Linked DNA regions of Homo sapiens: all the other regions are linked to region 1. Evidence: promoter capture Hi-C in human tissues and cell types (Jung and others, 2019). All regions are on one chromosome and are shown on one strand. Each heading gives the region's core, a stretch centred on a gene start or on the middle of the fragment in contact. The rest is flanking DNA. Distances are from core to core; before and after follow the strand shown.

Evidence for each region. Contacts are between HindIII fragments. The study calls those that stand out against the background at their distance.
Region 2: a contact is called between a fragment that was not itself captured here and the fragment with the promoter of SPDL1 in region 1, in 1 of the 25 tissues and cell types used here (mesenchymal stem cells).
Region 3: a fragment that was not itself captured here is called in contact with the fragment with the promoter of SPDL1 in region 1 in 2 of the 25 tissues and cell types used here (adrenal gland and pancreas).
Region 4: a contact is called between a fragment that was not itself captured here and the fragment with the promoter of SPDL1 in region 1, in 1 of the 25 tissues and cell types used here (dorsolateral prefrontal cortex).
Region 5: a fragment that was not itself captured here is called in contact with the fragment with the promoter of SPDL1 in region 1 in 1 of the 25 tissues and cell types used here (mesenchymal stem cells).
Region 6: a contact is called between a fragment that was not itself captured here and the fragment with the promoter of SPDL1 in region 1, in 3 of the 25 tissues and cell types used here (dorsolateral prefrontal cortex, mesendoderm cells and thymus).
Region 7: a contact is called between a fragment that was not itself captured here and the fragment with the promoter of SPDL1 in region 1, in 2 of the 25 tissues and cell types used here (aorta and hippocampus).

What each region holds. Positions count from the first base shown.
Region 1 is chr5:169,581,906-169,585,694 of GRCh38, reverse strand. SPDL1 (spindle apparatus coiled-coil protein 1) reads right to left here and starts at 1,922. Exons shown (of 12, transcript NM_017785.5): 1 at 1,806-1,922. LOC105377714 (a long non-coding RNA gene) reads left to right here and starts at 2,034. Exons shown (of 3, transcript XR_941200.3): 1 at 2,034-2,312. RefSeq lists an enhancer at 1,295-2,295. The HindIII fragment of the contact is 9,913 bases long and covers 1-3,789 here.
Region 2 is chr5:168,743,401-168,747,189 of GRCh38, reverse strand. All of the region lies in intron 20 of SLIT3 (slit guidance ligand 3), which reads left to right. Among named protein-coding and RNA genes, the nearest start is that of MIR218-2, 23 kb to the left of the region's middle. RefSeq lists enhancers at 45-616, 617-1,189. The HindIII fragment of the contact is 5,187 bases long and covers 1-3,789 here.
Region 3 is chr5:168,796,957-168,800,745 of GRCh38, reverse strand. All of the region lies in intron 9 of SLIT3 (slit guidance ligand 3), which reads left to right. Among named protein-coding and RNA genes, the nearest start is that of MIR218-2, 31 kb to the right of the region's middle. The HindIII fragment of the contact is 8,813 bases long and covers 1-3,789 here.
Region 4 is chr5:168,870,164-168,873,952 of GRCh38, reverse strand. All of the region lies in intron 5 of SLIT3 (slit guidance ligand 3), which reads left to right. Among named protein-coding and RNA genes, the nearest start is that of MIR218-2, 100 kb to the right of the region's middle. The HindIII fragment of the contact is 7,819 bases long and covers 1-3,789 here.
Region 5 is chr5:168,902,444-168,906,232 of GRCh38, reverse strand. The region is part of intron 4 of SLIT3 (slit guidance ligand 3); the gene reads left to right. Among named protein-coding and RNA genes, the nearest start is that of SLIT3-AS1, 110 kb to the left of the region's middle. The HindIII fragment of the contact is 3,318 bases long and covers 373-3,690 here.
Region 6 is chr5:168,921,623-168,925,411 of GRCh38, reverse strand. The region is part of intron 4 of SLIT3 (slit guidance ligand 3); the gene reads left to right. Among named protein-coding and RNA genes, the nearest start is that of SLIT3-AS1, 90 kb to the left of the region's middle. The HindIII fragment of the contact is 6,328 bases long and covers 1-3,789 here.
Region 7 is chr5:169,027,623-169,031,411 of GRCh38, reverse strand. The region is part of intron 4 of SLIT3 (slit guidance ligand 3); the gene reads left to right. It overlaps SLIT3-AS1 (SLIT3 antisense RNA 1), which reads right to left. Exons shown (of 5, transcript NR_109897.1): 3 at 956-1,026. Among named protein-coding and RNA genes, the nearest start is that of SLIT3-AS1, 16 kb to the right of the region's middle. The HindIII fragment of the contact is 4,139 bases long and covers 1-3,656 here.

The sequences.
Region 1 (3,789 bases), core at 673-3,172:
CTGCTCTAAAATGCAAGACCTTTTCAAAGCCTGTACATGATACGGCCAGCCAACTAAATGTTGTACTGTTCACAATAACTTACATTCGTTGAGGATTTACCATTTGCCATGCTAACTGCTTCAAATATATTATCTCATCTAATTATCTTGATGAGCTTGAGTTAAGTAAATACTGTCATCTCAACTACCAAAATAAAAATAGGGTTAACCTCAAGACATTCCAGCCAGGCATATCCAGAGAAGCCAAAAAAAATTTGCTTTAGTTTATTCAAAAAATTTGCTGGAATTCTTATTGTGTGAGACATTGTGCTAGTGTTGACAACACAATGGCAACCTAAAACAATATTCCTGTCTTCTTGAATCCTAGTCTATTAGTAAAAGACATTAAATCAAGTAATTGAACTATCAAGTTACAAGTATGATAAGTGCAAGAGAGACAGATGTATGCTACCTGAGCCTGTAACAAGGGGGAGCTGTCCTAATCTGGGGGGCAGCGCGTAGAAGGGAACATGGACAAAAAAATTTTCCTGAGGAAGTAACTTTTCAGCAGAGGTCTAATGGATGAGAAAGAGTTAACCTATCAATCTACAAAGAGAGATAGCCGTGGTTGATTAAAAACTACTAATGTGTGACAGACATTGTGCTTGGTGCTTTATACACATTCTTTTTTTTTTTTTTGAGACGGAGTCTCGCTCTGTCGCCCAGGCCAGACTGCGGACTGCAGTGGCGCAATCTCGGCTCACTGCAAGCTCCGCTTCCCGGGTTCACGCCATTCTCCTGCCTCAGCCTCCCGAGTAGCTGGGATTACAGGCGTGAGCCACCGCACCCGGCCGCTTTATACACATTCTTATTCAATCTTCTCAACAACTTCAAGAGGTTGAAGGTATTTCCCTCATTTTACACATGCAAGCTGAGGCATAGAAAGTTTTAAGTAACTTGCTTAGGGTTACCCGCAAGTTAAGACGCGAAGTGTGATGGGAACTAGAATCTACCTAGAAACCATGGTGCTGCAACCATTTTTCCTGTCCTGCTTCTCAAAAATATAGCACACACAAAGCATTTGGGACACAGGAAACTCTGGGAATCAAACTGCCTGAGTTCTTACCCCGCCTCCACTACTCACTGGCTGCATGAACTTGGACAAGTTATTTAATTTCTGGTTTAATCATCTATAAAAACAAGCACAATAACACCCACCTAATCGGTTACTGAAAGGATTAAATGAGATAACGAATGAAAAGCAATTAGGGTAGAATCTGACACACGGCTGGGGCAGTGCTGTCCAGCAGAAATATAACGCGAGTCATGTACGTGATTTTAAATGTTCTAGGAGCCATCATGATTTAAAAAGTAAACAAAGATGAAAAATTAATTTACATATTTAAACAAATACACTCAAAACATCATTTCAACATGTAATCATTATAAAAATTATTAATGAGATATTACTCCTTATGCGCTATCTCTGAAACCCAATATGTATCTCCCATCTGCACCATTTCTTAGTTCGGGCTAGAGGCTACCGTACCGCACAGCGCAGATCCAGTGGCGGTTATAATTTTGAGGACCCGGCAACCGACCCAACGTTCCATATTTGTCCAGAATCCCTGAGGGCGGCGAGGTGGTCCAGCGGAAGATAAGACCGGCTCGGAACCCAGTGTATAAGACCCCAGGGTTCCGGGGAAGGAGATGTTTCAGCTAAAGGCCTCGGCCGAGACCCCGGCCCCTAGCTTTCTTTAGGGCCTGTTCGACTCTCCCCACTGCCGCTCTCCACACCCACCTCCCACCAGGCCCCTTGCCCCTACCTCTCACGCTAGTCCCCTGCTGCCGCAGCCAGCGGCTCCTAATGGGAGCTCAGGGCGTCCACATTGAGGACGCTAACTCCACAGTCGCCGGCCCATTCGCTCAGCTAGCTCTCGAGTAAGCGCCTGGGATATTTGAATGCAGTTCCCGCGAGAAGTCCCACGTCTCACGAGACGTCCGCCCAAGCCGCGCGGAAAGGAAAAACCAAGAGAAACGCCCAATGGAGCGCCCACCCCCTCCTACAGCTACTGCGCATGTGCAAGTGGCGCGCCGTGGGCTTGGCGCAGGCGCAGGCGCAGACGTGGCTCCACATAAATTTTTCCTTGGGCTGGTTTCCTGCATGTCTTTTAAGTATTTGCTTTTAGTTTCCGTGTTTTGGTGTTTTGTTTGTTCGTTTTTTTTTTTTTTTTGTTTTTACGACAATGCCTTCTAGGGGAACAGTGTCGCTGGGCTGGGCGGTGGAGAGACACCTTTGGCACCATCGTGCGATCTCATGCACCCTACCAGTGGTAATACTGGCGTTAATATTTAAGTTCCCACCATGTGTTAAAGTTTACAGATTATCTCAGTTAAGCCCGCAGCCTTATGAGGCAGATATTACTCCTCGTTTTCTACAGAGAAAAAGCCCGAAGAAAAAAAGTGCCTTGTCCAAGTGGTAGAACTAGAATTGAATGCAGTCTTAGAGTCCAAGCTGTTTGCATGTGTTTTTAATAATAATATTTTGTAACCCTGATGCCTATTCAAAAATTGAAGCGATCAGAAATAATAATAGATAACATTTAATGAGCACTGATGAGTCCTAGTAACTGTTACATGAATCATGTCGTTCTTTCGAGCCCATCTTTTCTTGCCTATTTGAGAACTTGGCTCTAACTGCTCTTTTTTGCATCTTCAGTTTTTTCTTCTCTATTGGATCTTCCCTATCAGTTCATAAACATGCTGCAGTGATTGCCATAAAATCATTTCATGATTTCATTTTTTAAAAAATCCTCCTTGACACCAATCGGCAACCACCCCATTTGTTTTCTTCTCTTTATAACAAAATTTCTGGGGAAAAAAAATCTTTACATCCATTATCTCCATTTTCTTACCTTTTGTTCTTTTGTTTGTTTTTCCCACTTTAACCAGGATTTGGTCCCAACCAATACTATGAAGTGGCTCTTGTTAGGTTTACCAGTGATTCCTACCTTGCAAAATTCGGTAGTCAATATTTAGTCCTCACTTCTGGTGAAATTTGACAGAGTTGCTTGCTCTCATTGATTTGAGTCTTTATGTCTTGGGATGCCACACTCTCCTTGCCCTCTTCTTCTCAGTTTCTTTTGCAGACTACAATTTCTGCCTGAGCTAAGCCAGACTCAAAGGGTTGATCTGAGCTTTAAGATTGGCAACAAATTGCTCACAGTGTTGTCTCACAGATTTATCTGGGACTCCAATGAACCAGATGCTCATTCATTTGTAATCACACCTATGTTCTTGGAGAAATGAAACAAATACCATTTTCCCTATCACTGAACAAAGATTCCTTAACTCAGGGGCCAGGAAAAGATTGTTCTAGCTTAGGCCAATCATGACTGGCTGCAATTAGGTAATCTAAAATCGATCTGAACTTATTTTTTCTCCTTTGTTACAAGAGAAGGTATACCCTATGTTATTAATGTTTCTTCCTATTCTATTTTAAAAATATGTATTTTAAACTATTAATTGAGTGACTGCAATGTGTTAGGCATAGTGGAGGAATTCAGAGATGTGGTAAACTCGACTATTGCCTAGAAGATGCTCGCAATATAGTAGGAGATTTTAAAAAACAAATAGAACTTACAGGGCTGTAAATGCTATGCAAGTGGTATGTGCCCCACACTAAAGGAGTTGTGTGAAGGGAGAGGTATATTTTGTCTAAATGTTCCTTTAAAACTTCCCAGTGCATGTGACACTTCAAGCAGGGCCTTGAAGGATGGCAGAGCTAAGGAGGGGTGCATTCTAGGGGAG
Region 2 (3,789 bases), core at 822-3,321, 840 kb after region 1:
GATGCTAGAGCCGCAATCTGAGGGGTGAGGGGCAGGTCACTAGGAGGGAGGAGGCAGTGCTCTGGCTGAAGTTGCTGCATAAGCAAAGGCCCTGTATGGGAGCGGGCAGAGCCAGGGAGAGGCAACAGGAACAGCCTAAGTGCCTGAGCAGCAACACACCCACAAACCCACACCACACACCACCACACCACACACCACACATCCACACCACCACACACCACACACCACCACACCCACACCACCACACTCACACACCACACACCACCACACCCACACCACCACACTCACACACCACACACCACCACACACCGCCACACCCACACCACCACACTCACACACCACACACCACCACACCCACACCACCACACTCACACACCACACACCGCCACACCCACACCACCACACTCACACACCACACACCACCACACACCGCCACACCCACACCACCGCACACCACCACACACCGCCACACCCACACCACACACCACCACACCCACACCACCACACACCACCATACCACCACACTCACACACCACACACCCACACCACTACACACCACCACACCACCATACTACACACCACACCCACACCACCACACTCACACACCACACACCACCACACACCACCACACCCACACCACCGCACACCACCACACACCGCCACACCCACGCCACCACACTCACACACCACACACCACCACACACCACCACACCCACACCACCGCACACCACCACACACTGCCACACCCACACCACCACACACCACCACACTCACACACTACACACCACCAGACACCACACACCCACACCACCACACTCACACACCACACACCACCACACACCCACACCACCACACTCACACACCACATACCACCACACCCACACCACCACACCCACATACCACCACACCACACATCACCACACCCACACACATCTGATGCTTGACTTTGACATCTCTTTTGCCAGGCCCCATGCACATCCCCTTTTCTGGGCCAGGTTAGCACGTACAGGCATACCTTGGAGATATTGTGGGTTCAGTTCCAGACCACCATAAAGCACAAACTGCAATGAAGCAAGTCGCACAAATGTTTTGGTTTCCCAGTGCATATCGAAGTTATGTTTATACTATACCGTAGTCTATTAAGTGTGCAATCTCATTGTGTTGGAAAAAAACCAATGTACCAATGTACATACCTTAATTCAAAAATGCTTTATTGCTAAAAAATGCTAATGATCCCCTAAGCCTCCAGCGCGTTATAATCTTTTTCCTAGTCGGGGGTCTTGTCTTGATGTTGATGGCTGCTATCTGATCAGGGTGGTGGTGGCCAACATTGGGTGGCTATGGCAATTTCTTAAAATAAGACAGTAGTGAGGTTTGTCACATCAATGGAGTCTTCTTCATGAAAGATTTCTCTGCAGTACACAATGCTGTTTAACATCATTTTCCCATAGTAGAAGTTCTTTTAAAATTGGAGTCAAGGTCAGGTGCCGTGGCTCACGCCTGTAATCCCAGCACTTTGGGAGGCCAAGGCAGGTGGATCACTTGAGGTCAGAAGTTCAAGACCAGCCTGGCCAACATGGTGAAACCCCATCTCTACTGAAAATACAAAAATTAGTAGGGCATGGTGGCATACGCCTGTGATTCCAGCTACTGGGGAGGCTGAGGTATGAGAATGGCTTGAACCTGGGAGGCAGAAGTTGCAGTGAGCCAAGATCGTGCCACTGCACTCCAGCTTGGGCAATAAAGTGAGACTCTGTCTCAAAAAAAAAAAAAATTGGAGTCAGTCCTCTCAAATCCTGCTACTACTTTATCAACTGAGGTTATATAATATTCTAAATCCTTTGTTGTCATTTCAACAACGTTCACAGCATCTTCACCAAAAGTAGATTCCATTTCAAGAAACCAATTTCTTTCCTCATCTATAAGAAGCAACTCCTTATCTGCTCAAGTTTTAGCCTGAGATTGCAGCAATTCAGTCACATCTTCAGGCTCCACTTCTAATTCTAGTTCTCACTATTTTCACCATATCTGCAGCTACTTCCTCCACTGAAGTCTTGAACCCCTCAAGGTCATCCATATGGTTGGAGTCAACTTCTTCCAAACTCCTATTAATGTTGCTATTTTGACCTCCTACCATGAATCACAAATGTTCAAATGGCATCTAGAACAGTGAATCCTTTCCAAAAGCTTTTCAGTTTACTTTGCCCAAATCCATCAGAGGAATCACCATCTATGGCAGTTATGGCCTTACAAAATATATTTCTTAAATAATAAGACTTGAAAGTTGAAATTACTCCTTGATCCATGGGCTGCAGAATGGATGTTATGTTAGCAGACATGAAAACAACATTAATCTGTGTGTACATCTCCATGAGAGCTCTTAGATGACCAGGTACATTGTCAGTGAGCAGTAATATTTTGAAAGAAATCTTTATGTTTGTGCAGCAGGTCTCAACGATGGGCTTAAAATATTCAGCAAAATATGCCATAAACAGACATGCCATCATCCAGTCTTTGTTGCTATATTTCTACAGCACAGGCAGAGTAGATTTAGCATAATAAAAGCCCTAGGATTTTCAGAACGGTAAATGAGTATTGGCTTCAACTTCAAGTCACCATCAGCAGTGGCCCCTAACAAGAAAGTCAGCCTGCCCTTTGAAGCTTTGAAACCAGGCATTGACTTCTCCTCTCTATCTGTGAAAGTCTTAGATGGCTACTTCTTTTAATAAAAGGCTATTTTGTCTCCACGGAAGATCTGTTGTTTAATGTGGCCACCTTCATCAATTATCTTAGCTAGATCATCTGGATAACTTGCTACAGCTTCTCCGTCAGCACTTGCTGCTTTACTTTACACTTTCCTGTTATGAAGATAGCTTCTTTTGTTTTGTTTCGTTTTGTTTTGAGATGGAGTCTCGCTCTTTCACCCAGGCTGGAGTGCCGTGGCGCAATCTCGGCTCACTGCAAGCTCCACCTCCTGGGTTAATGCCATTCTCCTGCCTCAGCCTCCCCCTTAGCTGGGACTACAGGAGCCCGCCACCACGCCCGGCTAATTTTTTGTATTTTTAGTGGAGACAGGGTTACACCATGTTAGCCAGGATGGTCTCGATCTCCTGACCTTATGATCCACCCGCCCCGGATTCCCAGAGTGCTGGGATTACATGTGTGAGCCGCTGCGCCCAGCCGGCTTCTTTTCTTAAACCTCATGAACCAACTATTGCTAGCTTCAAACTTTTCTTCTGCAGTTTTCTCACCTCTGTCAGCCTTCACGGAATTAAGGAGAGTTAGGGCCTTGCTCTGGATTAGGCTTTGGCTTGAGGGAATGTTTAGCTGGTTTGATTTTTCTATCCAGACCGCTAAAAGTTTTTGCATGTCAGCAATAAGTCTTTCTCATGATTCATGTGTATATTGGACTAGCACTTTTAATTTTCTTCAAGAACTTTTTATTTGCGTTCACAATTTGGCTATTTGGTCCAAGAGGCCTAGCTTTGATCCGTCTTCGTTTTTGATATGTCTTCCTCACTAAACTTCATCATTTCTATCTTTTGATTTAAAGTGAGAGATGTGTGATTCTTAGAGGCCGTTGTAGGGTTATTAGTTGGCCCAATTTCAATATTGTACTTTGTCTCCGGAAATAGGGAGGTCCGAGGAGAGGGAGACAGGGAACAGCTAGTTGGTAAAGCAGTCAGAGCACACACAACATTTATCAATTAAATTCATCATCTTTGATGGGCATGGTTCGTGGTGCCTCAAAACAATTACAATAGAGACATCAAAGATCACTGATCACAG
Region 3 (3,789 bases), core at 412-2,911, 780 kb after region 1:
GCTTTCTGTAGGCAATACCAGGTGTCTACACACAGCACAGGTTGGGAATGGCTTTTCTCAGATATGCCTACATTCCTCATCTTCTCTATGGATCAAACATGTAAACTGGATGGGAGAGTCTAATACACTTTACCTTTCTTTCTTTCTTTCTTTTTTTTGAGACAGAATTTTGCTCTCATTGCCCAGGCTAGAGTGCAATGGTGTGATCTTGGCTCACTGCAACCTCCGCCTCCCAGGTTCAAGTGATTCTCCTATCTCAGCCTCCCAAGTAGCTGGGATTACAGACACCCACCACCATGCCCAGCTAATTTTTTTGTATTTTTAGTAGAGATGGGTTTCACCGTGTTGGCCAGGCTGGTCTCAAACTCCTGACCTCAGGTGATCCAACCGCCTCAGCCTCCCAAAGTGCTGGGATTACAGGCGTGAGCCACTGCGCCCAGCCAACAGTCTACCTTTCTGAAGAACCATGAGGACCAATGGTAAAGAAAGAGAGAGGCCAGAAAGGGACTGCCCCAGAAGGTGGGCCCAGAGCATAACCTTGAAAGGAACCTTCCTTTTTAGCCTTCTTCCAGCATAGGGAAGCATCAGGAACTGAACCTTTGGGGTCTAAGTTGTCTGGTCCAACCAACTAGCCCAGGATGACTTAAAGGAAGAATAAACATGGGGCTTCCTTCCTTCAGCGTGATCTGGACATCCTAACAAGAGTTCCCAAGTCAAGGAAGGCTGAGAGAGATGGGAAAGAGTTAAGAAACCACAAAAGTGGCTTCTGGGTGGGAGGCAGGATAGCCTAAGGGTTAAGAACACAGGGACTTCAACCAGACCAACCTGGATTCAAATTCAGGCTCCACCATTCACTAGCTACCTGACCTTAGGAAAATTGACCTCTTCGTACCATTATTTCCTCATCTGTAAAATGAGTACATTAATAATACTACTTGGTTCATAGTACTGTTGAAAAAAATAATTTGAGCCAGTGTGCAAGGAAGACAGTGTCTGACATATCAAAAGCCCTCAATAAATGGTAAATGTTCATATTATCACCACCACCACCACCACCAATGTTTCCACACACTCCAGGACCTTTTAACCAGGTGACTTGCAGACATGCCCCTGTGCCGGCCGTGCCCCTGCCAGGCTCCCTGGCATCATGTTGACTTCTGTATTGCTAGAAATATATTGTGTTTAGTCACATGTTTGCAAATGACAGATCATTAAGGAAGCATCTGAGGAACTAGGGCAAATCAATACAGAGCACAAATGGCTGAAATCCCCATCAGATGTTCCCATTGTTTTTGCTGGTGCGGGAAGACACTCAGATGTTTGATTTGTATGTTTGTTTTTATGCTAGTTCTATTAAATCAGTTTGCAGCCTGAAGAGTGTTTGCCAGACAAAGAAAGACACATGTGCCAGTTAAGAGAGACCTAAATCAGCTGTTGGCTTCAGACACATCCCTAAATGTGACAGTTTTTGCTGATGCAAATGCTTCTTTTTGTCCTTTCCATTGAGCTTTTCACACTAGGAGTCTGGACCTTTGCATCCTTGTTCTAGGTTGCAGGACTAGGCTAAGTGCAAAGACTTCCAGGAGTACCTGCTGCACAGAGACTGCATGTGAACCTGCACACATGTGTGCACACTTTCCAACCTTGCTTGCATGACAAAGGGGCCATTTTCCCTGTGGATGAGCTGGAAAGGACTAAGAAAATGAAGGCCCTTCAGCTCCAAATGGCATTCAGCAAAGCCTGGTGATTGAGAGTCTGGGCTTTGAAGTCAGATGAACTTGGCTTTGAGACCCAGCTCAACCTCTCCCTGACTTTGTGAATTTGGGCAAGTGACTTAATCTCTCTGAGCCTCAATTTTCTCATGTTTAATGTGGAGGTGGTAATAACTAATAAGATCTGACTCATAGAATGTGACTATTAAGTCAGACAGACCATGTGAAACTCTCAGCCTGGTGCCTAACAACTAAGCACCTGATCCATCATAGCTCTTGGTGGTAGTGGTGGTTATGGTTATCCCTCCCCTTTCCTTTACTTTACATTGAAGGTACACAAACTGTTCGCAACCACGCTCCCACTGCAGACAAATTCCTGCTGCCTCCTGGGGCAGGGTTGACCCTCATCATGCAATGGCCTTGGCACTCCAGGAGGGGCTGGGTGTTCAGCCAGTGCCCAAAACAGCCTGAGAAGCTGAGTAACTGCAGACAAGAATGAAACCCAGGCCAGGCGTGGTGGCTCACACCTGTCATCTCAGCACTTTGGGATGCTGAGGCAGGAGGATTGCTTGAAGCCAGGAGTTTGAGATAAGCCTGGCCAACATAGTGAGACCCCTCTCTCTACAAAAATAGAAGTTAAAAATTAGCCAGGCATGGTAATATGGGCCTGTGGTCCTAGCTACTCAGGAAGCTGAGGTGGGAGGATCACTTGAGCCCAGGCGTTCAAGGTTGCAGTGAGTCATGATCACACCACTGCACTCTAGCCTGGGTGACAGAGCAAGACTCTGTCTCTTAAAAAAAAAAAAAAAAGAAGAAGAAGAAGAAAAGAAAACCAAAAGCCAGAGTGAGCAAGTGTGAGGGGTGCAGGATGCAGAGCAAGATCTCTGCCAGGCTTAACAGGCTAAGCCTGGAATTCTTTTTTCTTCGTTTGGAAGCCACACCTTTGTACTCCATTTATATGTCTTATGTGTATTCACATCTATATTTCATCTTCTCTGGGCTCCTGCAGCTTTTCCCTGAATACCTACTTCCACAGAGACTGCATGACGTCTCTGTGTGTGAGCCCTGGGGTCCTAATCCCTTAAACTGTTCTGTGACTTTGAGAAAGTCCCCTTCAGTTCCTCCATTTTCACAAATATATAGAGGCAGCATATCCAATGGATAGAAACAGAGATATCAGTTCTGCCCGTTCCTGGCCCTGTCACTTTGGACAAGCTATTTGATTCCTCTAGGTTTTCTTTTCCTCATCTGCAAAATGGGGCCAATATGGTTTACCTCACAAGTGGAAGGATTAAAAGAGATAATAGACATAGTCAATTAGACCCCATAAATGATGGCTCTTGATGTTTATTATGGTAGCAATAAAATTTGGTTCTGTGATGCTCTTGGGCTGGTCTCTCTCATCAGATTCTCAGACTCCTTGGGGCCAGCGTCACATCATGTTCCTTGATTAGTCTCTCCCTCAATTCTTGCACCCATCATTAAGATGGAGGGTAATTGATTAGGAACTGCATAGAGAGCCCACAGACCTCACACCCAGTGCTAGCCTGACTTGCATAGGCTCATTGGCCTGCAGTTGGGAGCAGTGGATCCTCTTGCAAAAACTGAGGGGATTGCCGTTGTTACAGACAGTGGCTTTCCCTGGAGGCATCATCCAGCTGAAATCTCTTGCCACAGTGGCAGGTGAATGACGGGATTCCTGGAGAGCACGCACCACCTGACTGGCAGCCCCAGAGATCCATGGAGCTGCTGCCTTGGCTAAGAAATCTCTGCTGAACTCTATGCTCAGCTGGAAAATGAGCATGTCCTTGGAACTTCTCAGGCAAGGCAGGCTGCCTCAAGTCTGCTGTCTCTGTGGGTGGCTGTATCCAGTAGCCCACAGTCTCTGAGACCCTATGGTAAGCTTTTGTGGCTCTCTGTGAGCAGGCTAGCCAGGCCTGTGACTGTGCTCCCGGTAAAGTGCACTCCCCGCCCCCCTCCAGCAGGGTACAAAGGCATTGTTAATAGATCGTGGCAGTCTCATTTGTAGACTCTATTCATCCGGCAGCCAAGAATGATATGTCCTGATACTCCCTCT
Region 4 (3,789 bases), core at 843-3,342, 710 kb after region 1:
GGGACTTAGGAGGAGATGAGTATTAACATGGAGATCATACTTTGAGGCTCTGGTATTCGTTGATGTTCTGATTCTTTATCTTATTGGGACCAAGTGAGTATAGTGATTAAAAGTATGAGTTTTGGAATCAGGTTTGGTTTTTTTTTTCAGCTTTGCCTCTCACTACCTATGTGAGCTTGGGCAGGTTTCTCAACTCTTAGTCTATAAAATAGAGAAAATACTAGTGAGGAGTCCAGGAGGGAGAAACTCTGTGCCTCGCATTTGTACGTTGCTTTCTGGTTTGCACGCAGCCTTCACGTGTATTATCTTATCTTTGAGAGAGAGAGAAAGTAAGTCTCGCTGTCAACCAGGCTAGAGTGCAGTGGCAGGACCTTGGCTTACTGCAGCCTCTGCCTCCTGGGCTCAAGCGATCTTCTGCCTCAGCCTCCCAAGTAGCTAGGATTACAGGTGTGAGCCACCACACCCGGCTAATTTTTTTTTTTTTTTGTAGAGACAGGATTTTGCCATGTTGCCCAGGCTGGTCTTGAACTACTGGGTTCAAGTGATCCGCCTGCCTAAGCCTCCCAAAATGCTGGGATTACGAGTGTGAGTCACTATACCGGCCATATGTATTATCTTGTTTAATTACTGCAACAGTCTTGCAGGACCACTAGGGAAAAGTTGCTTATCCTCTAGGTATAGAGGTGGAAATTGAGGCTTAAATTCAGAAACTCTCCCAAGGCCACAAGGCCACAGAATGGGTCATGGCAAGGCTACAGCGGGATCCCAAGATTAGCGTGGACTCTCAGGCAGTGTTTTTCTGAGAGATTGGCCGGGAAAAACCCTGAGATTTGGTGAGCATGGAGGGATGCCTGGAAGGAAACAGCAGATACAGACAGATTCATGGGGAGTGTTGGAAAAGCATTTCTGGCTTGGTATCAGCCAAGACCCAAGGTAGGAGCAGGCTGTGAAGGTCACAGTTGGGACAGAATTTCCAAGAAGACCATCAAGATTGTCTGAAAGTATGAACTTTTGGCCAGGCACAGTGGCTCATGCCTGTAATCCCAGCACTTTGGGAGTGCAAGGCAGGTGGATCATGAGGTCAGGAGATCAAGACCATCCTGGCTAACACGGTGAAACCCCGTCTCTACTAAAAATACGAAAAATTAGCCGGGTGTGGTGGCGGGTGCCTGTAGTCCCAGCTACTCGGGAGAGGCTGAGGCAGGAGAATCACTTGAACCTGGGAGGCAGAGGTTGTAGTGAGCTGAGATTGTGCCACTGCACTCTAGCCTGAGCGACAGAGTGAGACTCTGTCTCAAAAAAAAAAAAAAAAGAAGAAGAAGAAGAAGAAAAGAAGAAAGTACGAACTTTAAAAAAAAAAAAGACTTTAATTTTTAGAGCATTTTTATATTTTTAGAGCATTTTGAGGTTTACAGAAGAATTGAGTGGAAAGTGTAGAGAGTTTCCATATACCCCCAACACACAACCATACAGTTTCTCTTGCTATTAACACCTTGCTTTAGTGTGGTATGTTTGTTACCACTGCTGAGCCAATATTGATACATTACTAACTAAAGTCCCTAGTTTACATTAGAGTTCACCGTTTGGTTTGTACGTTGGATGGGTTTTGACAAGTGTGTAATGACATGTATCCACTATTACAGTGTTATACAGAATAGTGTCAGTGCCCTAAAATTTCCCTGTGTCCCACCTATTCATCCTTCCTTCCATTCCCCCAAACCCTCAAGTGTGAGCTTTTAATCATGCAGGTAAATTCTTTCATTTTCACAACAGCTTATATTTATTTGGTTTTTCATACTCTCAGATAAGAGTCTCCTTTTTCTTCTTTGAAAAAGGGTAAGTGACTCCCATGTGTCAAAGTGCATAGAGCAGGTCAGCAGGACAGCCAAGCCCTGACTCAGCTTCCCAGCCACAGTGTGAAGCGTATGAGTGTGAAAGTCTCTCCTTCAGAGAAAAGACCAGTGGTCCAAAGACCCTGCCCATTCCCGTAGCTGTGCTTCCCCAAAGAATCTCTGAGGAGGTTGACATAATGGTGAAGTGCTCAGACTCTGGAGTCAGGCTGCCTGGAGTCAAATCCTGGTTCTTACCACCTTTATGACCTTAAGCAAATTGCATGCCTCCTCCTTAGCCTCAGTTAACCCATATGTTAAGTGGAAATAATATAATCCCCCTTTATGATGTTGTTTTGAAGAGTAGTAATTATTATTGCTGCTTTTATTCCATCTCTGAGAATTAACTAGGCCCAGGTTATCACATCTTAGAGACTAAATCTTCCCTTCCTAGACAAATATGTGCCCCCAAAAAAAGTCATATTTATAGTTTCCTGGCTCTGAAATGACCCTCCCTAACTAGTAAAGATATTTAACTTCATCACTCTTTCTGTTATTTCTTTGAGTGGGGCTGACCTCTTCCGGCATATGGCTTCTAATGGGCTAGGTATAAAGTAGGCCAGAGAAAAAGAGGGTGTAACTTCCCTGCCCTGTCCCTTCCTCTTGTCCCCACCAAGACATGGAAAGGACGAAAAGAACTGAGGAGTCCCAGCTCCGCTATTAACCGCTGCCTGCCTAGGGTAGGCTGAAAAATGGCTCTTCTAAAAATGCCTACATCCTAAACTCTAATGTATGTGAATGTGTACTCCACATAGCAAAAAGGATTACAAATCAAGAATTCAGGTTCTTCAAGTGGATAGATTATCCTGGATTATTTGAGGGGATCCAATGTAATCAGAAGGGTCTTCATAAGAAAAAAGACATGTGCTGGAAGCAGAGAGAGAGAAAAGACCACGTGATTCAGGGAAGGAGGACAACCCCGATCCTGGAAAAGACAGGAAAACAGATTGTACCCTGGGGCGTCCAGAAGGAACGCAGTCCTGCTGACACCTTGACACGAGCACAGTGAAACTGATCTAGGACTTCTGACCTCCAGCATTCTAAGACAATAAATTCGTGTTATGTTAAGACGCTCAGTTTGTGGTAATTCGTTATAGCAGCCATGGGAAACCAGTACTAGAACCACCCTCAGGCTGTCACCAAACCCTGTCGTCTGGATTTCCTCTTCTATTAAAATAAATCATTGACATAAAATCAGTGAATTTCACCTTGTATTCTGAGAAACTCTGGTGCTTCAAGAGCCCACAAATAGTTATTTTCAACAGTGATAAAGATTTAAATTGCCTCTTTTGACATTAGTGTGCAACATGAGATTTTGTGTCACAAAGAGCCTATGGGGAGAAAAAAGGCTTGAAAAATAACCACTGGACTTGATAAATAATCTTTCAGGTCTACTCATATCACAGAGTTTGATGGTTCTTTGAGGCCATCTTCCACCAGGAAGGAGCTAGGTTTTGTCATTGAGGTAAAATTCCGTGGCAGGGTCAAGAAGCCAGCACCAGGTAGGGACAGCATAAAAGAGAATCAGGATAATGCCAGGTCTCTGGACTCAGAGCTGGACTTTGGAAGCTCAACTCCAAGGTTGAGGGTCTGAGCTGGGCTCACTGTGGGAGGAAAGGAAAGGAGAAGGGTTGGTGTTGACTGGGAGGTGATTACCTGGAATGGGGCTTAGGGCTTTTGAAAGTTTCCAGATATCCTTGGGACTGGTTAGGGATTTCTGCAGCAGGGCAAAGTTTAACTGGCTTTCTTGGCCATTCTCCCTTCCTTCTTGTAGCCCCAGATAAACTACTTTGCATCTGGGGGCAACAGCCAGTTCTGGAAAGAGAATTATTAGAGACTCATGTGAAGACATCGTGAGCCAGTCATCAAAAATATTTGCTAGATGAATAAATAAGTTGCT
Region 5 (3,789 bases), core at 782-3,281, 680 kb after region 1:
GTTTTAATCCTTACTGTATTTTTAAGTATAATAGCATAGTACGGTATGTTCAGATTTTCTTTTCATTCTTCTTTCCTTTCTTGAACATTAAAATATTGGGCAAGGTGGGGAGAGGAATGTGATCTCTTCCTTATGAAAAAACACACCACCTACCCTATTTTGCAGACTCCATGGAATGTGGGGTGGAAATTCGGGCTTGCTGATGATTAGAGTTCAGGACTTGCTGTTTCTACAGCTCCAGCTGAGTCCTCAATAGATCTTCGTATCTCTTTCGCGTTCACCTCCTTTAATGCTTTGCTTCCTGGCACTCCAGAATGATTGGTAATATTAAATCAGGGAGATACCACCTTCTTCTTTCCAAAGTCAAAAAGTCTAGACATCATCTCTGTGCCCACGTGTGCCTAAATATTTCCTTCTTTCTAAATGGGTGATGGTGGAAAGGCAGGGCAGGCATGCTAACCCAGGCTCCTCCAAGGAAACGCTGTGGTTCAGCAAGGGGTATACGAGTTTCTGGAGGCAGACAGACATGTGGAATTCCAATACCACTTTTCCCTGTACCCTAGGGAAAGTTGCCTAGTATTTGAGCTGTAGTGTCTATATATGTAAAACCAGAATAGCAGTACCTGCTTCTGATGTTTTGAAGTTGAGATGAGCACACTGTAGATGTGTTCACCTCTCCGAGTCTGTGTACAGACCTGAACCATGACTCCTCATATTTTATAGTCACACACTACTTTCCTTGCCTTTTCTTTGCAGATACATGATCGTACTTCACTACTGTTGAATAACTTGCCTTCTGATTAACAAAATATTAAGGATATCTTGATAATGAAAAAACAATTTTCAAAAGAAGAAGGCTGCACCAGCAAGCATACAGGTGTTGACAAAAATAGAAAGGCCCTCTGACTGGGGAGGATCTAGGTACATTTGCACCCAATCAGCCAGCAACATGGAGGAGGAAAAAGGATAGAAAGGGATTATGCTCTTATGGTGCTTCATGGGTGCACCTCTGTTGATGAGCAGGGTTTGGACATCCCCATTTTTTTTCTTTTTTTTGGAGATGGAGTCTCGCTCTGTCCCCAGGCTGGAGTGCAGTGGCATGATCTCAGCTCACTGCATCCTCCGCCTCCCGGGTTCGAGCAATTCGCCTGTCTCAGCCTCCCAAGTAGCTGGGACTACAGGTGCACGCTGCCACGCCCAGCTAATTTCTTATTTTTATTTTTATTTTAGTAGAGATGGGGTTTTACTATGTTGCCCAGGCTGGTCTCAAACTCCTGAGCTCAGGCAATCTGCCCGCCTCAGCCTCCCAAAGCGCTAGGATTACAGGCGTGAGCCACCACACCCAGCCGGATATCACCATCTTTGTAAAGAAGGCTGTGAGTTTGTAACATTGAGAAAACCCCAGGAATGTCTAGAACTCCTGTGGCAGCCTGGGGCGTCCTTGTGCTGCTGAAACTGGCACAAACTGCCCTCCCCCAGAGACCAGAGGCCTGATCCCTCTTGTTTGGGGTTTCTCTAATTGCACACACATGTCTATCAGAAATGTATGATCTCCATAGCAGTTCACCTTCCTGACGTCATTCTTGTCCCCAGAGCTGGAATTAGCATTTTGCAGTGAAGTCTGGGAGTTTTTTCTATATTCAGAAAGGGACATTGAAGGCTATGCCAAAAGGCTTAGAAACATACTAGCACATGATAAGTAAAGATGAATGAGGTATTATTATTATTATTATTATTATTATTGTTATTTCTAAAGTAAGATTTTCTGGATTAGCCCCACAGAGGAGAGTCAGAGGCTTTGATATTTTATAACTGCCTCTCTGAGGGGAGCTGATTTGTTGCTGTGAATACCAAAAGACTGATTATCAGGACTGGAGAATTAGTCTATTTGGTTTATTTCCCCCCATTGGAACCTTCTCACCAGTCTTCTACCAGAAGCAAACTTAGCAGAAAAGTCCAGGAGGGAAACAAAGGTTTATTTTTTTAATCCAGAATGTGTGATCCCCAAGTTGGCATGGTAGTCAGCAAGTGCAGGCGAACAAAACTTTGAGTCTTCATTGTCTCCCCCTACTCAGCACATCTCTAAGCTTCTGGGAGCGGAGTGAGAATGAGGAGGGCGCTGGACACAGGGGCAACAGGGCCTCAGTTTCAGTTCCCACTTTGCCAAGTGCCTCACACAAGGTATTTACCTCATGCCTCAGCCTCCACAGTAGTAAATTGAAGGGGTTGGTAAGGTCCAAAATACATCAAAGTGCTCTAAGCTACTGGGGTTCAACAAACTCAGTTCCCCTGTCATCCCACCCAGTGTCCCCACTTCGATCAGAGAAGCTTCAGTGTGATGATTTCTGTACATCAAGGTTTTATGGAAATGCCCATTTGACAAAACAATTCTACATTTGGTTATTTAATAATAATTCAAACCAGTGAACGAGGTGCTGGGAGGGACCGCCATGATTCTCTGATCTTTATGAATTGTAGAGGGGGATCATAGTGGGAGGTCAGGGACAATAACAGAGAGGAGAAGAAAGGAACAAGATGGGCAAGGCCCTCCAGGAGGGCCAGAGACAGGCCTTTGTGTTCCAGCCATGCATGCACAGCAGAAGGACCATTCCTGAAGACCCTGCTGCCCCCGTCCTTCACTCCATGCCCCCACAGGTGTCCTCTTTTTGCCCGAGCAGGTAGAACAAAGAGCAGGCAAGTCAGGGGTCATGCCCTGGCTTACTGTGACCTTGGCATCATGCTGCAAAGCCTCAGCCCTCTGATCTAGAGAATGGGATCCAGCTCTCACCTCAAATGAAACACAGGTGCTGAGAGGTTTATAACTCATCAGAAAATGCCAAAATAACTAAAGCCCTGACAGGGAAAACTGTGCTGGAACAGGAAATTTCAGCTTCCAGGGACACCAGGTTTGCACCCCCAGGAAGCCTGGCTGCTTGTGAATTCCTTGTCTTTTCATCTCCAGCCCTATGTGTATGTGGAGACTCACGGCTTATCCCTCACTGCAGAGAACTGAACGAGGAAGAGGCATATGGTGAGAGAGTGCCAGTCTGTGGCTTTTTAAATGAAAATTTACATGTAAATATGAATTAGCTGAAATATCAGTTATTTTTTAATTGGCTCTTCAAATCAGCACAAGGAAAACCTGTGCCTGTTGGTCTGCTGATTGAGTGATGTTGGCTTAGAGATTCTCATCAACAGTCAATGAAGAACTACACTCTCTCCTGCTGGAAACCCTTCCATGGCTCCTTCTCGTCCTCAGATCATATCCAAATAAGATCCCATCTGCCCATCACCTCCTGTCCTCCTAATCAGCCGCTATTCCCATTCTCATTCACTCAGCCACTACCCCCATTCTCATTCAACAGCCTCCCCTGCCCATGCTAACCACAGTCACCTTCATCTGCTTCTCAAATTCATGTATGTCATGTGCTCAGCCACCTCAGAATCCTCGTGCAGTGTCCCCTCTGCCCAGCAAGCTTTACACCAGTGGATTCTCAAACTTTGGTGCTCATAAGCATCACATGGAGGGGTTATTTAAAGCACAGGCAGTTGTGCCCCAACCCCAGAGCTTCTGATTTAGAACAGCTGAGATTAGATCTGAGCATTTCCCATTTCTAACAAGTTCCCAGATGATACAAATGCTGCTGGTCTAGAGACCATACTTTGAGAACGGCTGCATCAGTCCCCCACTAACACACACCCTTCCCTTGCATAATTCCTACTCTTCCTTCACTTCTCAGTTTAAGCTGTACTTCCTCTGACTGCTTATCACGCATTGAGCTCTCCTGT
Region 6 (3,789 bases), core at 796-3,295, 660 kb after region 1:
AGCTCTGGATATAGATTTAGAATCTCCACATGGCAGCTCAGATGGTCTAACTCCAGATCTGGCAGCTGGGGTGGCTGCTTCCCACTTCCCCAGCTTGTGCATAGTAGCAGCTCCCTTGGTGCGTCAGTTCTGCAATGCTATTCCTGCAAGTTACTCCCAGAGGTGCTCACTGGAACCTGCTCCCCGAGCCCATTCAACAAGTTTGTCAGCATGTACAAGTTTGTCTTTTGCTACAGAATTGACAGATGCTTACCAAATTGTTGGACTTCCTGCTTAAACTGTCTATAATGGCTTCTGTTACTTGTAGCCAAACCCAGACTGGTTTACAGAATTTAGGAGGTTAACAGAAAATAACAAGCTAACACTCCTAGCACAGTTCCTGGCTCTTAGAAGGTGCTCGATAAATATTGGTTGACTCTGAAACTGAAATCAGGGCTGATTTCATCTTAGTGGAGGAGGCAACTGCTTACCTTATGATGGGATCTCAGGGATGCGTTCTTTCTTTCTCCGCTCTGCTCTGCAGAGTCCACTTACCTGCTCGTTGGTTTCTTGAAGAAAACAACTTTGCCAATTAGAAACAAGGCTCAAAACTCAAATGCAGCTGGGTGCGGTGGCTCACGCCTGTAATCCTAATACTTTGAGATGCCAAAGCGAGCAGATTGCTTGAGCTCAGAAGTTCAAGACCAGCCTGGGCAACATGGCAAAACCCCATCTCTACAAAAAGTACAAAAAAAATTAGTAGGGTGTGGTGGCATGTATCTCTAATCCCAGCTACTTGGGATTTTGAGGTGGGAGGATTGCTTGAGCCTGGGAGTTCAAGATTGCAGTGAACTGTGATTGTGCTGCTGCACTCCAGCCTGGGTGGCAGAGGCAGAGTGAGCTACACACACACACACACACACATACACACACACACACCCTTACACACCCTTAAATGTTCCTTATTAATTATACTGGCTTGCATTGAACTGAGGTGTAAGTGGTCGATTTGGACTCCTTTCCTAAAAGAAGGGTTTGAGAGGGGAGGAGTGAGAGAGATGGAGGGTACTGGGTCCCAACCCGCAGGAAGGAGAGAAGCAGGACATGGGAAGAGGAAGCCAGGCAAAGACTGGGGGCTAGGAGTGCCCTGGATCCCAAAAGTCTGTGCCCCAGAAACACATGGTCCAGTCCAGGCCGACACATGACCACTTAGCTCCATGTCTATGGCTCCTGTGAGTGGCCAAAAGTCTGCCACCATGACTGAAATGACAGAGCAGAAGGGTCAGAGGTGTGAAGAGAGACTGGAGAAGCAGACGGGTCAGATCATGCAGGGCCTTGTGGACCCGGGTACAGACTTCTATCTAGTCCAGTGGTTGGCAAACCCATTCTGTAAAGGACCAGATATTATTTTAGGCTTTGCAGGCCAGACAGTCTCTGTGACCCTATTCCATTCTGCTGTTGTGGTGCAAAAGCAGCCGTAGACAACATGTAAATGATTGAGCGTGGCTGTGTTCCGGTAACCTTTATTTCAGGCAGCAGGCTGGATTTGGCCCACAGGCCATAGTTTGCCAATGCCTGGCTTAGTCTAAGGACACTGAGAAGCCTTTAAAAGATATTGGCAGGACGTGATGGCTCATGCCTGTAATCCCAGCACTTTGAGAGGCTAAGTTGGGTGGATCACGAGGTCAGGAGTTCAAGACCAGCCTGCCCAACATGGTGAAACCCAGTCTGTAGTAAAAATATAAAAAGTTAGCTGGGCATGGTGGCAGGTGCCTGTAATCCCAGCTAACTGAGAGGCCGAGGCAGGAGAATTGCTTGAACCCAGGAGGCGGAGGTTGCAGTGAGTCGAGACTGTGCCACTGCACTCCAGCCTGGGCAACAGAGTGAGACTCCATCTCAAAAAAAAAAAAAAAAAAGATATTTAGGAAGGGGGTTACCTAATCATATTTATGTTTGTGAAGAGCCCTGTGACTTAAGGTGGAAGGTAATTGTCAGGAAGCAGAGGGATTTGAGTAGCCCAGTTGAAGGGATGGTAGCTTGGGGGAGGATGCTGCCAGTGGAGGTGAGAAGTGGACTGAACAGATATTTGGGAGTAGAAATGCTAGAATTTGGTGGTTGGTCAGATATAAGGATTAGGGAGGGGGAGCTTCAAGACTGACGCCCAGAACTGTGGCTCGTAGGATGTTCTGGGGCTTAGCTTGCTCACCCTGCTGTTTATCTGCCATCCTGTGGTTTGTTAAACTGTTTCCCCCAAAACATTCTCAATCAAGGCATTTCTCTTCAGTGTATGGATTCACCTGTCATTGCCCCAGTCCTAAAGGTTCCGAGCTGGAATGATTCTTGACTCTTTATTTCCTACAAGTCCCCTCTGCTCCCATCTAGTCAAGCACATGATCTGGTAACTCCGCTACTCAACCTCTTAATGAAAGTATCCTCACTTTCCGTATCTACTCAGTTCTAAGTTCAGATGCTAAGACTTTCGCTACATATGTTCAGGTATTAAGGGAATCCCAAAATGTTTGTCGAAATCACTTCAGTTCCTGCATTTAGGATAGTGAGAGTTCACCTAGCATGCAGCACTCATAGTTTCATATTCAACACAAGCACCTGGCCCTAGCTGAGCCCTCTTTGTCTTAGGCCCAGACCTCTTACCTGTGTATTTATCTCCCTTATCATCAGTTGATACATCACTGCCTGATCAAGCTTCATGAAGCTCTGTTCCTGTGTACCTGCTGGAAAAACTTCTGATGGTTGCCCATTGCCTCCAAACTGAAGCTCCTTGCCCTTTCCCTGGCACTCCAGCATCTGCAGTTGAAGACCAGCTCTGATCTGTGCCCTTTTTCTCTCTCTCTTCCCCTTGCAGACTCCTTAATCTTGGTCAGCCTGTTCTCAAATGCATCATGCACGTTCCCACCTCTACGGATTTTTACTTGCTATGGTTCCCACCTTCCACTTCTTTTTTTTTTTTTTTTTTTTGAGACAGAGTCTCGCTCTGTTGCCCAAGCTGGAGTGCAGTGGCACAATCTCGGCTCACTGCAAGCTCCGCCTCCTGGGTTAACGCCATTCTCCTGCCTCAGCCTCCCGAGTAGCTGGGACTACAGGCACCCGCCACCATGCCCGGCTAATTTTTTGTATTTTTAAGAGAGACAGGGTTTCACCATGTTCGCCAGGATGGTCTCGATCTCCTGACCTCATGATCCACCTGCCTCAGCCTCCCAAAGTGCTGGGATTACAGGTGTGAGCCACCGCACCTGGCCTCACTTCTTGTGTTCTATACAGAATTGAAATTAATTATTTGCAGTTTGAAACCTTGCTCCTTGACTTACTAACACTGCAGCATGGGGCCAGTTACTTCTCAGAGCCTCAGTTTGCTCATCTGTAAAATGGAGTTCATTTCATTAACCTTGCATGGTTGGTATATGGATTAATATAGAAAATTCCCATAATGCATTTAGGATATGGCAGGTGTTCCATAAATATTGCTTTTCTTCCCCTATACTTCCTAAGAGTGATTTACATAATTAAATGAGCTCATAATTAAATGAGCTTAGACCAGTGTCTCACATGTAGTATGTGCTCAGTAAAGGTTAGCCTTTTTGTTCTAATTTAATTTGAAGAAGGATAGCATTTATAAACAAAGTGTTCTCCTTCTCCTTGTCATTCCATCATTATGATAATCAGTTCTGGGTACTCAAAGATCAAGGATGCTCCCTGAGCGGGTGGGAGGAAAGTAAGCAGCTTGGAGCCGGGACAGGAGATGCAGCCGGAGGAAAGAGGAAGGCATTAAATGTGTACATTTCCCAAAATCAA
Region 7 (3,789 bases), core at 338-2,837, 550 kb after region 1:
AGATTATCTGTTTCAGATCTATCAGAAGGCATCTTCTATGAGGGTAGAGGTGAAATCACCTCCATATTTTTTTTCTACCCCTCTAGTCCCAGACGCAAACACAGTACTTAGCACATAGTAACTCAACAAATATTTGTTGAATTAATGAACAGAATATGAAATGGCTGAGGGGTAACTTTCCTACTCTGAGGACAAAGTGCAGTTTTCACTGCCTACACTGATCACAAGCCAGGGAGTCTGAAATGCTTGCAAAAACTTCAAGGCTTCCCAGGGCCATCTGCAAGGATATTATCCTGAAGCCACTGCTTACACCTGACTAGTACGACTACTATGCTGGATACTCAAGACAGGAAATGAGGACCTGTCAGGGGCTTCTAAGTTGCTATTCAGGAGAGGAAAGCTTTTAGTTAAACCAGTGGTAGAATACCCTGAGCCCTGTCTGCCTCGCCTTTCCAAGAAGAAGCATGCAAGAGCCCGAGGGTCACAATTTTAAAACCACATATCTAATAGATAAATACAGAACCAGAAATTAGAAAGCCGTATTCTATTCCCAACCATACCACGTTCTACTTCCGAGCCAATAAGTTGCTTTTATTGGCCAAACTTCAGTTTTCTTACCATTAAATAGATGTAATATTGTTTATCCTCCTTAACTCATATGATTGTTTTGTGGATAAAATAAGACAAAGATGAAAATATTTTGAATAGGTAGAAGTACTTTACAGTATTATTTGAGCCTGAGTTACACAGATAGGGTTTCTTCTCCTTAGAGGCTTCAAAATTAAGGAAGATGCACTGATTTCCATAGATACAAAAACATTCCAAAGACATAAACACAGTGAAAGGACAAATGCATTATTCATTGGCATTATGGATTTAGGTGGGTGGTCAGAAAGAAACAGTGTTCTATAATAGATCTCCGCCTGCGGATCAGGAGTCCTGGGTTTGAACCTACCTTGTCATCCATTTACTAGCTGTGCCAGTTTGGTAGGTCACAAAATCTCTGAAAGCCTCAGTGGCCCCCATCTGTAAATTGAAGAGGGAGGGTGAGAGTGGGTGGGAAGTGGAGAAATAGTAATGATATTATGATAGTTTGGAGGATCAAATGAAAAGTGGACTAGGAAAGGCCTTTGGAAACAGTGAAGTGACTTAGCAATGCAAGGCATTAGTATTATCCAAGCATTTGTGTGTTTAGCCAAGGGGCAGTCAGAAAGTCGTCAGGGAAGGCTGCCCAGAATAGCAAAGAAGTATCAAGAATGACTTAAATAATAGCAGGGAGAGGGCAGGTCTAGTCAAAGAACAAGTTTCAGGGGAGGGTGCAGCCTAGGAGAGGGCAGGTTTCCAAGGGGCTGGCAGGACCCAGCCAAGGTGGTGGGTAGCTCCCCTCTTTCCAAAAGCTGAAGTGGTTCCTAAAAGCCCTGGATTACAAGGCAGAGGACAGCATTCAGGTGGGGAGAATGTGTTAAAAGGATCTCAAGTACACTCAAGGATGTTTGTTTTTGATTAGAAGATGAGGATTAACTGGATTAATGGAGCCTCATGAATGGAGAATGTGCAGATGCTAATTGCCCCTAAATTACAGTGGATTCCATTGGAATTGTGTATTCCTCTCCACAAACCCAACCACTGCCTGCCTGCTCTCTCCTTCCCTCCCTCCCCACACAATGCTAAAATGAATGTGTCATTGTAACTGAGATGAAAGGCCTTGAAATTGATTTTCTACTTCCTTCCAAGATCTCTTGTTTGCAAAACACAGGAAGATGTAAGTTACTAATCGAGTTCCAGTTTATTTCAAACAAACAAACAAAAAATGTATTCTAGGGATTCAGTTGCTGGAAGGCTTTTTCAAGCCCTCATTTCTTGCTTAGTTTCTCTGCCACACCAATTAACTTAGTGGTTCTCAAAGTTGAGTGCACACCAGAATTACCTGGAAACCCTGTTAAAACAGATTGCTGGGCCCCACCCCACAGTCTCTGATGCAGTAGGTCCGAGGAGAGGACCCAAAATTTGCATTTCTAACAAGTTCCCCCAATGACAGCTATAGTGCTGGCCCAGGGCCACCCTTTGAGAACAAATGAACTAGGAAAATATCAGAGTATTTTAAGGAATCTGGCTAACAAAAAGAGTGCAAACCTCAAAGTCCTGTGGCTATGTCTTCTCGGAGAAAGTGGTGCAATCACTCAGAATTCAACAAATACCTACTGTTTCCTAAGTCAGCTATGCATAGATTCTCTTGGATTTGGTGAAGCTTACGGATAGCTTATGGGATCAACTTGCTTTGCTATTGCATGGGAAATGCAGAAGAATTTGCAACTGGGGTGTTTTCTTCCTGGAGTCCCCACCCATTCCTCCTCCTATCTGGTTTGCACACCCCCTCTTCTGTTGATTATACATGTCAAGTGGTGTTTTCACAGCTCCACAGCCATCACACACCTCCAGACCCCTGAACACTCCCTTTGCCTTGAAGCCACCAATATATGTCCAGGCCTATTCTACATTTATTTATAGGTCACTTTTGTGCAAGGCCTGGGCTGCTTTTGCTAGTGTTGCCAAAATTTTGGAAAGCAGTGGAATCAACACATTTTGGGTTCTAGCTCTCACCTTGCCTCTAGGTTACCATGTGATTGTCGAAAAAATACTTAAACCTCTGGGTAGGATTTTACTCATCAATTAAAGAAGTTATTAGTCTAGCTAGCTTAGTGGTTCTTCTCCTTTTGGGGGAAATGAAAATGAAATGTATGGACCTCTTCCTAGGAAAGTGGACATGTGCAAATAAATGCAAAATATTGCTCACAATTGTTAGACTGCCTGAATAATAATATAGTAATAACAAGCAATGATGATTATAGCATTTATTAAGTGCCAACTATGTGCCAGGCACTGTACAAGGCACTTTACATGTGTTATATTTAATCCTTGCAAGAATCCTAGGAGGTCACAATGCCCAGTTTCTAGATGAGAAAACCGTGGCAAAGACAAGAGAATTCATCTCAGTTCACCCAGCTGGTAAGCGCACAATGGGATTTGTGGGAGCCTACACAGCCCTGAAGCTGACCAATGGTCCTCTGGGACATGTATGACCCTGAGTTAAGAGTAGACGCAGTTCTAGGTGATAGTTCAAGTCCCCCTGAGCTCTGAAGTACATAATTCACAGATTTTTTTTTTTTCCCATCACTAATAACCAAACATTTGGAGAAATAACCCCTGGCATTCTTAAGGCTTCTGTGCATCAGAGGTGGTCACAAGGTTTACAATTTAAAGAATATTTGGGGATTAAACTCAGAAAACCAAGCCACCACAGTGCCACACTTCTGTCTTTTGTGGGTGTCTTAAAAATGAATGCTTTCTTATCGTAGTTTCTGACCAGAGGCAGCTTCCTTTAAAGGCTAAAGGAAGCAGCCCGTCTCAGCTCCAGCAGGTCAGTAATGTGACGAGATAAAGGGCAGTTCCTTAATGAAAACCACTCTCCCTCCTGCCAGTAAAGGAGTTTTCTTAGTGCATTTCAAGTCCTCTAACACCTCTTCCCAGATCAATGGCTTTTCATAAATGCACCAGGAGATCTTTGAACCACTAATGCTTCAGGGGCTGTTTAGGTTTGGAGTCAAACTGTTTAATATAACTCTCCTCCAAGTCTGGCTCTATTGAAAGGTCTCAGGAAACAAGGCAGGAGGAATGTATAAAAAGCAGAACCGCTGCGGCCAAGTGACGTCCCTCGCCTGCCTCGGCCTTCTGTTTATACAAGCAAATTGGACCAGGCTTATTACATTCAGGAGGGGGAAGGAGGAATAA